Regions from separate parts of the Homo sapiens genome. Here all the other regions are linked to region 1. Evidence: promoter capture Hi-C in human tissues and cell types (Jung and others, 2019). All regions are on one chromosome and are shown on one strand. The core of a region is centred on a gene start or on the middle of the fragment in contact, and the rest is flanking DNA. Distances in the headings are between cores, read along the strand shown.

Evidence for each region. Contacts are between HindIII fragments. The study calls those that stand out against the background at their distance.
Region 2: a fragment that was not itself captured here is called in contact with the fragment with the promoter of PTPRS in region 1 in 2 of the 25 tissues and cell types used here (IMR-90 fibroblasts and neural progenitor cells).
Region 3: a contact is called between a fragment that was not itself captured here and the fragment with the promoter of PTPRS in region 1, in 1 of the 25 tissues and cell types used here (neural progenitor cells).

Annotation. Positions count from the first base shown.
Region 1 is chr19:5,338,729-5,342,563 of GRCh38, reverse strand. PTPRS (protein tyrosine phosphatase receptor type S) reads left to right here and starts at 1,752. Exons shown (of 38, transcript NM_002850.4): 1 at 1,752-1,900. RefSeq lists a silencer at 1,545-1,824 and an enhancer at 3,691-3,835. The HindIII fragment of the contact is 6,208 bases long and covers 1-3,835 here.
Region 2 is chr19:5,582,621-5,586,455 of GRCh38, reverse strand. No RefSeq gene overlaps it. Among named protein-coding and RNA genes, the nearest start is that of TINCR, 17 kb to the right of the region's middle. RefSeq lists enhancers at 1-389, 244-538, 284-578, 558-617. The HindIII fragment of the contact is 4,461 bases long and covers 1-3,835 here.
Region 3 is chr19:5,552,405-5,556,239 of GRCh38, reverse strand. No RefSeq gene overlaps it. Among named protein-coding and RNA genes, the nearest start is that of TINCR, 14 kb to the left of the region's middle. The HindIII fragment of the contact is 4,976 bases long and covers 1-3,835 here.

The sequences.
Region 1 (3,835 bases), core at 503-3,002:
GCTAGAGTGTGCAGTGGTGTGATATTGGTTCACTGCAACCTCCGCCTCCCGGGTTCAAGAGTTTCTCCTGCCTCAGCCTCCCAACTAGCTGAGACTACAGGCACCTGCCACCACGCTCGGCTAATTTTTGTATTTTTAGTAGAGATGGGGTTTCGCCATGTCGGCCAGCCTGGTCTCGAACTCCTGACAAGTGATCTGCCCACCTTGGCTTCCCAAAGTGCTGGGATTACAGGCATGAGTCACCGGGCCCGGCCTCTTTTCTCTTATTATTCCATCTTCAGGCACCAATGGCAGCCAGGCTGCCACATTATAGCAATTCATCATCACACCCTCCTTAGGAGCAGGGGCTACCTTGCCCCATTTTACAGATGAGAGCTGAGATCCAGAGGCAAATCCATTCTACAGATGGGGAAAGTGAGGCTCCGGGCCTCACACAGCAAATCAGTGTTTTAGCTGGGTTCCAACTGTGGCTCGTCCTGACTCCAGGGAAGCAGGGGATGGTAATTAGGTGAGACCTGTGTAAAGTGCTTACTCTATAAGAAGTGCTCCATCATCCATTCATTCATGTGTTCAACCTACAATAGGGATCTCTGGAGCCACACTGTAGTGTAACTAGAATAAAAACGGGATAATGGGACCAGGCGCGGTGGCTCACGCCTGTAATCCCAGCACTTTGGGAGGCCGAGGTGGACGGATCACTGAGGTCAGGAGTTCAAGACCAGCCTGGCCAACATGGTGAAACACTGTCTCTAACAAAAATACAAAAATTAGCCAGGCGTGGTGACAGCACGCCTGTAATTCCAGCTACTCCGGAGGCTGAGACAGGAGAATAGCTTGAATCCAGGAGGCGGAGGTTACAGTGAGCCGCGATCACGCCACTGCATTCCAGCCTGGGCGACAGAGTGAGACTCCGACTCAAAACCAAACAAACAACAACAACAACAACAAACCGGGATAATGGGATAGAGTGGAGTGGGGCGTGGCTGGTAGCTGTTGTCAGGGAGGGCTTCTCCCAGGCGCTGCTTATTTGAGCAGAAATTGGAAAGATGAGAAGGGGAAGTTCTTGGATGCTCAAGTTAGAGGAACTGTAAGAAGCTGGCTGAGGCGGGAGGATCACCCGAGCCCAACTACTCAGGAGGCTGAGGCGGGAGGATCACCTGAGCCCAGGAGTTTGAAGCTGCAGTGAGCTATGATCATACCACTGTACTGAGGCCCAGGTGGCAGACCCCATCTCTGAAAAAGCAAAGAAGGAGCAGCTGGTTTTTCTGGATCATTGACATGGTGGGGGGGAGGGGACAGGGTAGTGGGCGCTAATGTGAAACGGCGAGCTGCAGAGAGGAGGCGGGATTTTATTCCAAGGGTACTGGGGAGCCGTGGCACAGTTTAGGGCAGCGCACAGAAAGTGCCATGCCCTTTGCACCCAGGACGCTGGGGCTCCCGCACGGACAGTAGCCCCAGGGGCCCTTCCCGCCGCCGCCGCAGCCGCCACCACCACCACCACCCCAGCCGCCCACGTGTCCCGCGAAGCCCCGCGCCCCACGTGCTCCCGCGGCCCTTTAAACACCCCGGAGCCACGTGACCGCGCTGCGCCGTCCCATTGGCCGGGGGGCGTGGCGGCCGCGCGGCTGCGCAGTGACGCGCACGGGCCGGCCCTGCCCCCGACCCGGCGGCGGCGGCGGCGGCGCTGGCGGAAGGGATGACGTCACCGGCTGGGGGGGCGCGCGAGCGGGAGCTAGGGGAGCGCGAGCCGCAGTGAGTGTCCTCGCGCCGCCCGCCCGGCAGCCCGGCCGGCGCGCGCACGCCGCGAGCCGCTGGCGCTCGGGCTCCGCTCGGATCCCATGCAACAGCCACGATGTGAAGCGGGGCAGAGCCGGGGGAGCCCAGCCCAGCCAGCCTCCAGGTAAAGCCAAAAAAAAAAATAAAATCATGGATTAGAGGAAAAAAAAATGCAGGCGCTCCAAGGGGGGTCTCGGAGGCAGCCGAGTGGGCAGCGCGCCGGCTTTGTGCCGGGGAAGCCTGCACGGCCATTGTGCTCGGAGGATGCTCGGCTGCAGCCAGTTGCACGCCCAGCCGCTGCGCCCCGGTAGCTGCGCCCGGACAATGCCCCGAGGGACAGGGCCGGGGCCGCGCTGGGGGCGCTCGGCAGGGGGTGCTGGGGGGGCTTCGTCCGCGGCGTGGGAGGGGGCTGGGCTGGAAGCGCCCAGAGCGCGGCATTGGAAGCTGCCCAGCGCCGCCGGCTGCACCACCCCGGGCTGCGGGCGGGGCAGAGGCGCGGAGGGGGGCGCGCGTGTGTGCGGAGCCGGTGCCGGCCCCGGCGGCGCCCGGCCCGGGTCCCCGGGCGGGTCCTGGAGGCAGGGGGCGCTGTGCCGGGGGATGGGGGGCATGCGGGCGCCCCGGAGCGGAGAGGAGCCGGGACGGGTGGCTCCAGGCGGGGTGGCTCCAGGGCTGCTGCGCCCGCCGCCTTCCCTCTCCGGGTCTCCCTCCCCTGGAGACCCCCTAGTCTACGCCGTCTCCCCTGGAACACTCCGGGCCCTGTCGTTGCCTTATGGGAGGTCGCCCCTCCGGCACTCGGGCATTGCCCCACCCTTCTGCGGCCTCGGCGCCCCCTTCCAGCCTCCCCACCCAGGGGCGAGCCTCAGCCCCCAGCCCCAGGGGCTCTGGCAGGCAGACGCGCACGCCCAGCACCCCAGTCTCCCCTCCGCGCTGGGGGCCCCGTGGGGATCCCGAGAGTGGGGAAGCCGCCCCTGGAACCGCCAGCCCCGCGGGTTCCGCACGCCCCGGGAGCCCCCGGGGGCTGCGGGGGGAGGGGAGGTGACGTCATACCGGGGGCGGGGCCGTCGGCACTGGGTTAAAGGGGGCGCGGGGCGTGCCCTGAGGGGAGCCCCCCAGGTTAGAGTGCCCGCGCCGTGGGTGCGAGGGTTCGGCCAGGTTGCGGCCAAGTTCACCTCTCTTTATGGGAATCTCTCCTAAAATTAAGATCCTCCCCTTCGGACCTCCCCCTACAAATCCTGGACATTTCCCACCAATTCCCCCCCTTCCCAAATTGGGGAACTCCCCTTCGGCCGCTTTCTCTCCAGAATCCTCAAATCAGGGAACCTTTCCCACAAACTGGGAATCTTTTTTTCAGCCACACCCCCCGCCCCAAATCTGGGACCTCCTTCTTCGGTTGACCCTCTTTCCCCAGTCTCAAATCGTCTTCTCGTCTCCCTAAATATGCAGCTTCCAAGAACGCCCCTTCCTCTGCAACCCTTCCTCAAATCCAGCCACCTCCTGGGACCTCATTCCCCCAAATTAACAAACCTCCCAGAGCCTCATTGGGGGTGCCTTGCCTCCCCCTTCTGGGCTCAGCTGGGATTCCCCTGTCCCCCCCCGTCACAATCTAGGGGAGCCCCCTTCTGAGCATGGGGTCCTCCTGCCTCTGGCCGAGACCCTAAAAACACATCCCGGCAGCCGCGGCTAGTGAAGCGGGTGTCCGAGGTGTCGGAGTCCCGGCTGAGCAGCAGGGATGATACCTAGAAGCCGGAGGAGGCAGGAAGAGACCCCTAGGGTCCCAAGGACAGGGACCCACACGCTCCGGGCTCCCGTCCGCCACCACCCGGACTTTGGCTGCTGGGATTCTGGCCTCCTCTGGGTGGCCCCCTATCGCTGCTGTCCTTGGGGTGCAGAGGGTGACGGCGCCTCTTTGTCTGGGGCGCCCTTCTTCCCTCTTTCTGCCGCCTTTCGCCCGGGAGAAGGAAGCCATCCCGCTCCTCTGCTCCTGCGATACCAGCGGCAGCTGCTGGAGCGTTTATTAATGGCCCAGGGACTTGGTCGAATCTGCCATTTGCATAAGTCC
Region 2 (3,835 bases), core at 730-3,229, 240 kb before region 1:
TCTGGAAATGTCCATTTGTCTGCAAAAGTGCATTTGAGTGTGATGCCCATTTTCTTCCTTAAAGACTGTGCCAGATGAGGCACTTCGCTGGCCGGGGTAGCCCGCAGGCTGCCGGCCCATGCGCGCAGCCCTCCGTGCCAGGGCCCTCCAGGGGCCGGCCACTGTGAGGCACAGCTGTTCTGTTCAGAACTGCTGGTGCATGAGCGGAGCTGGTGCTGGCCAGGGGTAGGGGCTGCAGGCATCTTGGGGCAGAGGATGGTGCATGGGGTTGGCCTAGTGCCCTCTCGGCGGGAGGGGCAGCCCAGCCCGGTGTGGTGTGGTGAGAGTTAACTGGCAGGGCCACCTGCTGGGGACCTCTTTTCCTCCCCTCCGTATCTAGGACAGCCACCCGCAGGCCCCTCCTCCAACTGCCGGTTCTGCTGGAGTTCCCCCCGCCCCCGCTGGGAAGTTAAGTTTTTAAAAAGCCATGTTAAAATCCAGCCCAGCTTGCCACAGACACCAGAGCATGAAAGGCAGGTTGGCCCTGGCCCTCGGCGTCCTGTCTGGGCCTGAGCTGCCGTGAACGCATTCCGGAGCCTCCCCCACGGTGGCGGCTTCTGGAGTCATTTTCCAGTGGCAGGTGGACTGGGCGCCACGCCGCCTCTGTGTTGCACATGGGGTCTTCGCGGCTTGCCTGTCTCCCCGACGAGCCAGAGTCTAGAAATTGGGGTTGAGAGCTTCCCTGTTGGGCAATAAAAGGCAGGCTTAGCCTGCGTTGAGGAGGCAGCCTGGGATTGGGAGCAGGCCCTGTTTTCAGACCTCGGTGTCTCAGATGTCACGGAGCACCCCTTCCTGGAGGTGGGTGTGGCCTCCTGAACTATGAAGCAGGGGCTCAACCACTGCCAGGCTGCTCTATGGGAGCTGGAAAGGGAACCAGTCCCACTGGACATCCTATGGGGGCAGAAGAGCCCTGCCCTTTCCAACGAGCCGGGCCTGGAACCAGCTCTGTTCCACGCAGAAACAAAGCACTCGAGTTACCAGGACGGCTGTCACAAAGCACCATAGACTGCCTAAGGAAGCTCATTGGCTCTCAGTTCTTGAGGCCAGGAGTCTGAGATCTGGGTGTGGGCAGGGCTGTGTCCTTCCCAGGCTCCGTCCTGAGCCTCCTGGCTTCTGACAGCTGCCGAGCACCTCTGGGCATTCCTTGGTTTGTAAAAACATTGCCCAGTCTCGGCCTCCATCCTCATCATGTGGCCTTCTTCCTGCAAGCGTGTTTGTGTCCTGGTTCCCCCCCCCCTCCTTTTTTTTTTTTTTTTTTTTTGGAGACAGTCTCACTCTGTCACTGCTGGAGTGCAGTGGCGAGGATCTGGGCTCACTGCAGCCTCCGCTTCCCAGGTTCAAACGATTCTCCTGCCTCAGCCTCCCAAGTAGCTGGGATTACAGGTGCCTGCCACCACGCCCAGCTAATTTTTGTATTTTTAGTAGAGACGGGGTTCCACCATGTTGGCCAGGCTGGTCTCGAACTCCTGACCTCAAGTGATCCGCCCACCTCGGCCTCCCAAAGTGCTGGGATTACAGGCGTGAGCCACCGCGCCTGGCCTGTTTCTTTAATAATTGAGCATAGGTACGTTATATTAACTCAACTTTTATTTCAAGAGAGAAAAGGTGGGTGGAACAAAATACGTGTTATGAAAAGGAGATGCTGATGGACGTGTGGGTGGTTCCCCCCTTTGGGCAGTTGTGTGTGAATCACGCTGCCGTGAGCATTTATGGATATGTATGTGTTTGAACACCTGTTTTCCATTCTCCTGTGTATATACCTGGGACTGGGATTGCTGGGTCCTATGCTGACTTTGTAACTCCCTGTGTTTTATTTCTGGAAGTATAGCCAGACTTTTCCACAGTGGTGGTACCATTATACATTCCTACTAGCACTATATGAAGATTCCAATTCCCCTTTTTTACGAGACAGGGTCTCGCTGTGTCTCCCAGGCTGGAATGCAGTGGCGCGATCATAGCTCACTGCAGCCTCGAACTCCAGAGCTCAAGCCATCCTCCCACCTTGGCCTCCCAAGTTGCTAGGTCTACAGGCATGAGCCACCATGCCTGGCCTTGGTATACCATTTGGTGGTGAATTTTGTTATGTATCATTTCCCATCGTTTTAAAGACATTTTTAAAGGGGAGGGGGAGCTGTGGGGGCATCACGGGAATGAGAGCCACTGGGGCAGAAACAGGGAGCTTCTTGAGAGCAAGTTTAGGAGCCAACTGCCTGGCACCCAGCCTTCTCACTACCTGCCTGCCCACGGGCAGGTCATTACTGTCTGCTTTAGCTGCTTTAACTGGAAGGAGGGAGTAATCATTGTAGTTGCCATATGGGATCTTTACAAAGATTAGTTAATCCACATAAAAAGCTTGGCATACAGTAAATGCTTAATACATGTTGGCAGGCCCTGGGGAGCCCTACAGGAATAGAGCCTCGGGTGCTCATGTTTCACAGGGGCCCTGGCGAAATGCAATGCCAGAGGTCTGGAGGGGGTCCCGGTGAGGAAATGACCAGCTCCAGCCATACAGAAAGAAAACAGCAGAATCAGAATTAAGACCTTATGGCCTGGCGCGGTGGCTCATGCCTCGAATCCCAGCACTTCTGGAGGCTGAGGCGGGTAGGTCACCTGTGGTCAGGAGTTCGAGACCAGCCTGGCCAACATGGGGAAACCCCCATTTCTACTAAAAATACAAATATTAGCCAGGCATGGTGGTGGGTGCCTGTAATCCCAGCTACTCGAGAGGCTGAGGCAGGAGACTTCTTGAACCCTGGGGGGCGGAGGTTGCAGTGAGCCGAGATCGCGCCACTTCACTCTAGTCCCGGGTGAAAGAGCGAAACTCCATCTCAAAAAAAAAAAAAAAAGAAAGAAAAAGTAGAATTAAGACCTTACGAAATGTCTCCACAGCTACAAAATGTGTCAACTTCACCAATTGCTAAATTTTGTATTCATAAAGATTTCATTACATTTCAAAACAGCTCCTAGGTTAGATTTTCTTATTCCCAAGGAACTCCCAAGCCTCCACGATGATTGCCAGTCTCAAATTGCATGCATGACTCCTAGTCACATAATTTCAAAGGCAAAGTTAGAACAGGGCCTTTTGATTCCAAAAAAACCCAACAACCATAAAGTCGACGTTTAACGGGGATGCCGTGCCTTTTAACAGGTTTGCCGGATTGAGGGGCAGGGCTTCCTTGAGTCCCAGTGACCCACGGGAGAGGTGAGGCTGTTCCTACCTGGTCATACGATGGTGACAAATCAGGGTTCGGATTCTGCTCTCACTGCTGGGTGGGTTCAGACCTCAGCCCTTCAGCCATTTCTTTGGTCAGCTGGGTGGACTAGGAGAGCTTTTCTCTTTGTTTTTTGAGATGAAGCCGTGCCGTGTTGCCCAGGCTGGAGTGCAGTGGCACAATCTTGGCTCACTGCAACCTCCGCTTCCCGGGTTCAAGCGATTCTCCTGCTTCAGCCTCCCAAGTAGCTGGGATTACAGGTACCTGCCACCATGCCTGGCTAGTTTTTGTATTTTTAGTAGAGATGGGGTTTCCCCATGTTGGCCAAGCTGGTCTCAAACTCGTGGCCTCGGGTGATTCTCCTGCCTTGGCTTCCCAAAGTGCTGGGATGACAGGCATGAGCCACCACACCCAGCCACGAATTCCTTCACCTTAATCACATCTGCAAGGTCCCTTTGTCTTGGAGACCAATGTGTTCATAGGTCCCAGGGATTAGGACGTGGGCATCCTTGTCCGTCACCCTGGTGTACAACAGAATCCACTTTGGGAAGCACCTGATGTGCTTACCAGTCAAGCAAGTTAGA
Region 3 (3,835 bases), core at 919-3,418, 210 kb before region 1:
TTGGCTGGGCACAGTGGCTCATGCCTGTAATCCTAGCACTTTAGGAGGTCAAGGCTAGAGGATTGCTGGAGGCTAGGAGTTCGAGACCAGCCTGGACATGGGCAACATGGCAAAACCCTGTCTCTACTAAAAATACAAAAAAATAGCCAGGCGTGGTGGTGGTGCACACCTGTAGTCCCAGCTACTTGGGAGGCTAAGGCAGGAGAATGGCGTGAACCCGGGAGGCGGAGCTTGCAGTGAGCCGAGATTGTGCCACTGCACTCCAGCCTGAGTAACAGAGCAAGACTCCATCTCAAAAAAAAAGAAAAAGAAAAAAAGACCCCCTTTCCTTCCAATATCGTAAGCATGACCTCTGGGGTGTCTTCAGAAGCTGCTGGGATCATGCATTCCACAATCACTGATTAAGCACCTCCAGTTTGCAGGGCTCTGAGGACAGCGTGGTGACTAGGATACCCAGTCAAGCTCCCCACGGAGTTCACGGCCCAACAAAAGCCACAGAAGCTGCAGGGCAAGCGCATGGCCCCTGAGACTCCCCAGAAACCTCTCCCACACACAACCTTCCTCTGAATGACCTTGGGTGTTCTTTGTCCCTCGCTGGGCCTCAGTTTCCCTGCCTGCCCAAGAAGGGAAGTGTTTGGGATAGCCAGGCATTCGGTGTTTGCTGGCAGACAAATCCTGACTAACCCCCGTGCCCAAATGGATTTGAAAGAACCCTCAAAAAGGAAAACAGTCATAAGAAAGAAAAAAAAACCCGGCCAGGCGCAGTGGCTCACTCCTGTAATCCCAGCACTTTGGGAGGCTGAGGCGGGCAGATCACGAAGTCAAGAGATCGAGACTATTCTGGCCGACATGGTTAAACCCTGTCTCTACTAAAAATATAAAAATTAGCCAGGCGTGGTGGCAGGCGCCTGTAGTCCTAGCTACTTGGGAGGCTGAGGCAGAATTGCTTGAACCCGAGAGGCGGAGGTTGCAGTGAGCCAAGATCACGCCACCGCACTCCAGCCTGGCAACAGAGCGAGACTCCGTCTCAAAAACAAACAAACCAAAAAAAAAAAAAAAAAACAACACAGAGCCGACCACTGACCTTGCAGGGTGATGCACCTGGGGCAGAAGCAGCCTCACTACCACCCCTTGGAGCATCACGGAAACTTATCCATCTCTTTCCTTGGTGGCCCCTGGCTATCCACTGAAGGCTGCTGGCCTCACTATGAGGGCTCCAGGCCTGGCCCTGAGGTCCCCTGACTTGGCACTGACCTCACACTTGTGCTTTAAGCTTCAGACCTACTAAACCCCTTGCTGGGCTCCAGCCACAAGGTTTTTTTCACAGGCTATTTCTTTTCTTTTCTTTCTTTTTTTTCTTTTTTTGAGACAGAGTCTAGCTCTGTTGCCCAGGCTGGAGTGCAATGGCGCTATCTTAGCTCACTGCAACCTCCACCTCCTGGGTTCAAGCGAACCAGGAGGTGAGAATCCTGTCTCAGCCTCCTGAGTAGCTGGGACTACAGGCACACATCGCCATGCCCTGCTAATTTTTGTATTTTTAGTAGAGACGGGGTTTCACCATGTTGGCCAGGCTGGTCTTCAACTCCTGACCTCAGGTGATCCGCCCGCCTTGGCCTCCCAAAGTGCTGTGAGCCACCGCACCCAGCCTGCATGGGCTATTTCTGTATATGAAATACCCTCTCCCAACCTTTCACCTTTCACCCTGTGATTTGCAGGTTCAATGTCACTTCCTTGGGGAGGCCCCCAAAACAAGTTATGTTCCTGTTGTTTTGTATTCTCACAACATCTTGTTCTTTTCCTTTGTAGCATTAATTATTTATATTATTATTCATTCAATGTATGTTTTCCCCACTAGCCTGTGGGCACCATGAAGACGGGGAAGAGGTCTGGTTTGGTCACTGCTGCAGTACACAGCGTTTAATAACCCAGCGCCAGGGAGCGGTGGGGAGCCAGGAACACCTTTGCTCCCTTCCCAGGCTCAATGAGGCCCCCTCTCCACCATAGTTCCTGCCACCACTGGGCCTTGGTCCAGGTGACCAAGGGGCACGGAGGTTTGGGATTGGGATTCCAGGCACTCTGGCTCCTGCCGCCGTGATAAATGGGGAGAATTCAGAATTAATTATCGACTGCTCTGCTGAGCCGGCCTGATCTGGGCAGATAAAGAGCGTGGGCGCCACTGCATCTGCCCAGCGCTTCTCAGAAGTTTATTAGAGGATGGGAGGCAGTTGGCTGATGGGAGGAGTCTGGAATGCATTAGAGCCAGAGCTGCTGGGGGCAAGGCTGTGGCTCTGCTGGGCCACTTGGGGCAACACGCTCTTCCTCTCTGAGCCTTGGTTTTCTCATTTGGAAAAAGGGAAGTAAAAAAGAAAATCCTACCCCAGCAGTTTGGGATGCCAAGGTGGGCGGATCACCTGAGGTCATGAGCTCGAGACCAGCCTGGACAACATGGCGAAACCCTGTCTCTACTAAAAATACAAAAATTAGCTGGGTGTGATGGCGGATGCCTGTGATCCCAGGTACTTGGGAGGCTGAGGCACTAGAATCCCTTGAACCCGGGAGGCGGAAGTTGCTGTGAGCCGAGATTGCACCACTGACCTCTCTGAGCCTTGGTTTTCTCATTTGGAAAAAGGCAAGTAAAAAAAAAAAAAAACAGCCGGGCGCGGTGGCTCACGCCTGTAATCCCAGCACTTTGGGAGGCCAAGGCAGGCGGATCATGAGGTCAGGAGATTGAGACCATTATGGCTAACACGGTGAAACCCATCTCTACTAAAAATACAAAAAAATTAGCCGGGCGTGGCAGCGGGCGCCTGTAGTCCCAGCTACTCCGGAGGCTGAGGCAGGAGAATGGCGTGAACCCGGGAGGCGGAGCTTGCAGTGAGCCGAGATCGCGCCGCTGTACTCCAGCCTGGGCGACAGAGCGAGACTCCGTCTCAAACAAAAAAAAAAAAAGAAAAGAAAAATCCTTATATGTTGAGATAAGTTTTTTGGGGAATCACCAAGAGCAAAGAAAGCAAAGTACACAGTAGGTTTCATGCGTGTCCATGTGAAGAGACCACCAAACAGGCTTTGTGTGAGCAGCATGGCTGTTTATTTCACCTGGGTGCAGGCCGGCTGAGTCCGAAAAGAGAGTCAGCGAAGGGAGATAGGGGTGGGGCCGTTTTATAGGATTTGGGAAGGTAATGGAAAATTACAGTCAAAGGGGGTTGTTCTCTGGTGGGCAGGGGTGGATCTCACAAAGTACATTCTCAAGAGTGGGGAGAATTACAAAGAACCTTCTTAAGGGTGGGGGAGACTACAAAGTACATTGATCAGTTAGGGTGGGGCAGGAACAAATCACAATGGTGGAATATCACCAGTTAAGGCTGTTTTTACTTCTTTTGTGGATCTGCAGTTACTTCAGGCCATCTGGATGTATACGTGCAAGTCACAGGGGATGCGATGACCTGGCCTGGGCTCAGAGGCCTGACATTCCTGCCTTCTTATATTAATAAGACAAATAAAACAAAATAGTGTTGAAGTGTTGCAGCGGCGAAAATTTTTGGGGGGTGGTATGGAGAGAGAACGGGCGATGTTTCTCAGGGCTGCTTCGAGCGGGATTAGGGGCGGCGTGGGAACCTAGAGTGGGAGAGATTAAGCTGAAGGGAGGTCTTGTGGTAAGGGGTGATATTGTGGGGATGTTAGAAGAAACATTTGTCGTATAGAATGATTGGTGATGGCCTGGATACGGTTTTCAATGAACTGAGAAGCTAAACGGAAGATAGAAGGTCTGAAGAAAAGGAGGAGAAAAATGGGTATTAAAGGACTAAGAATTGGGAGGGCCCAGGACATCCAATTA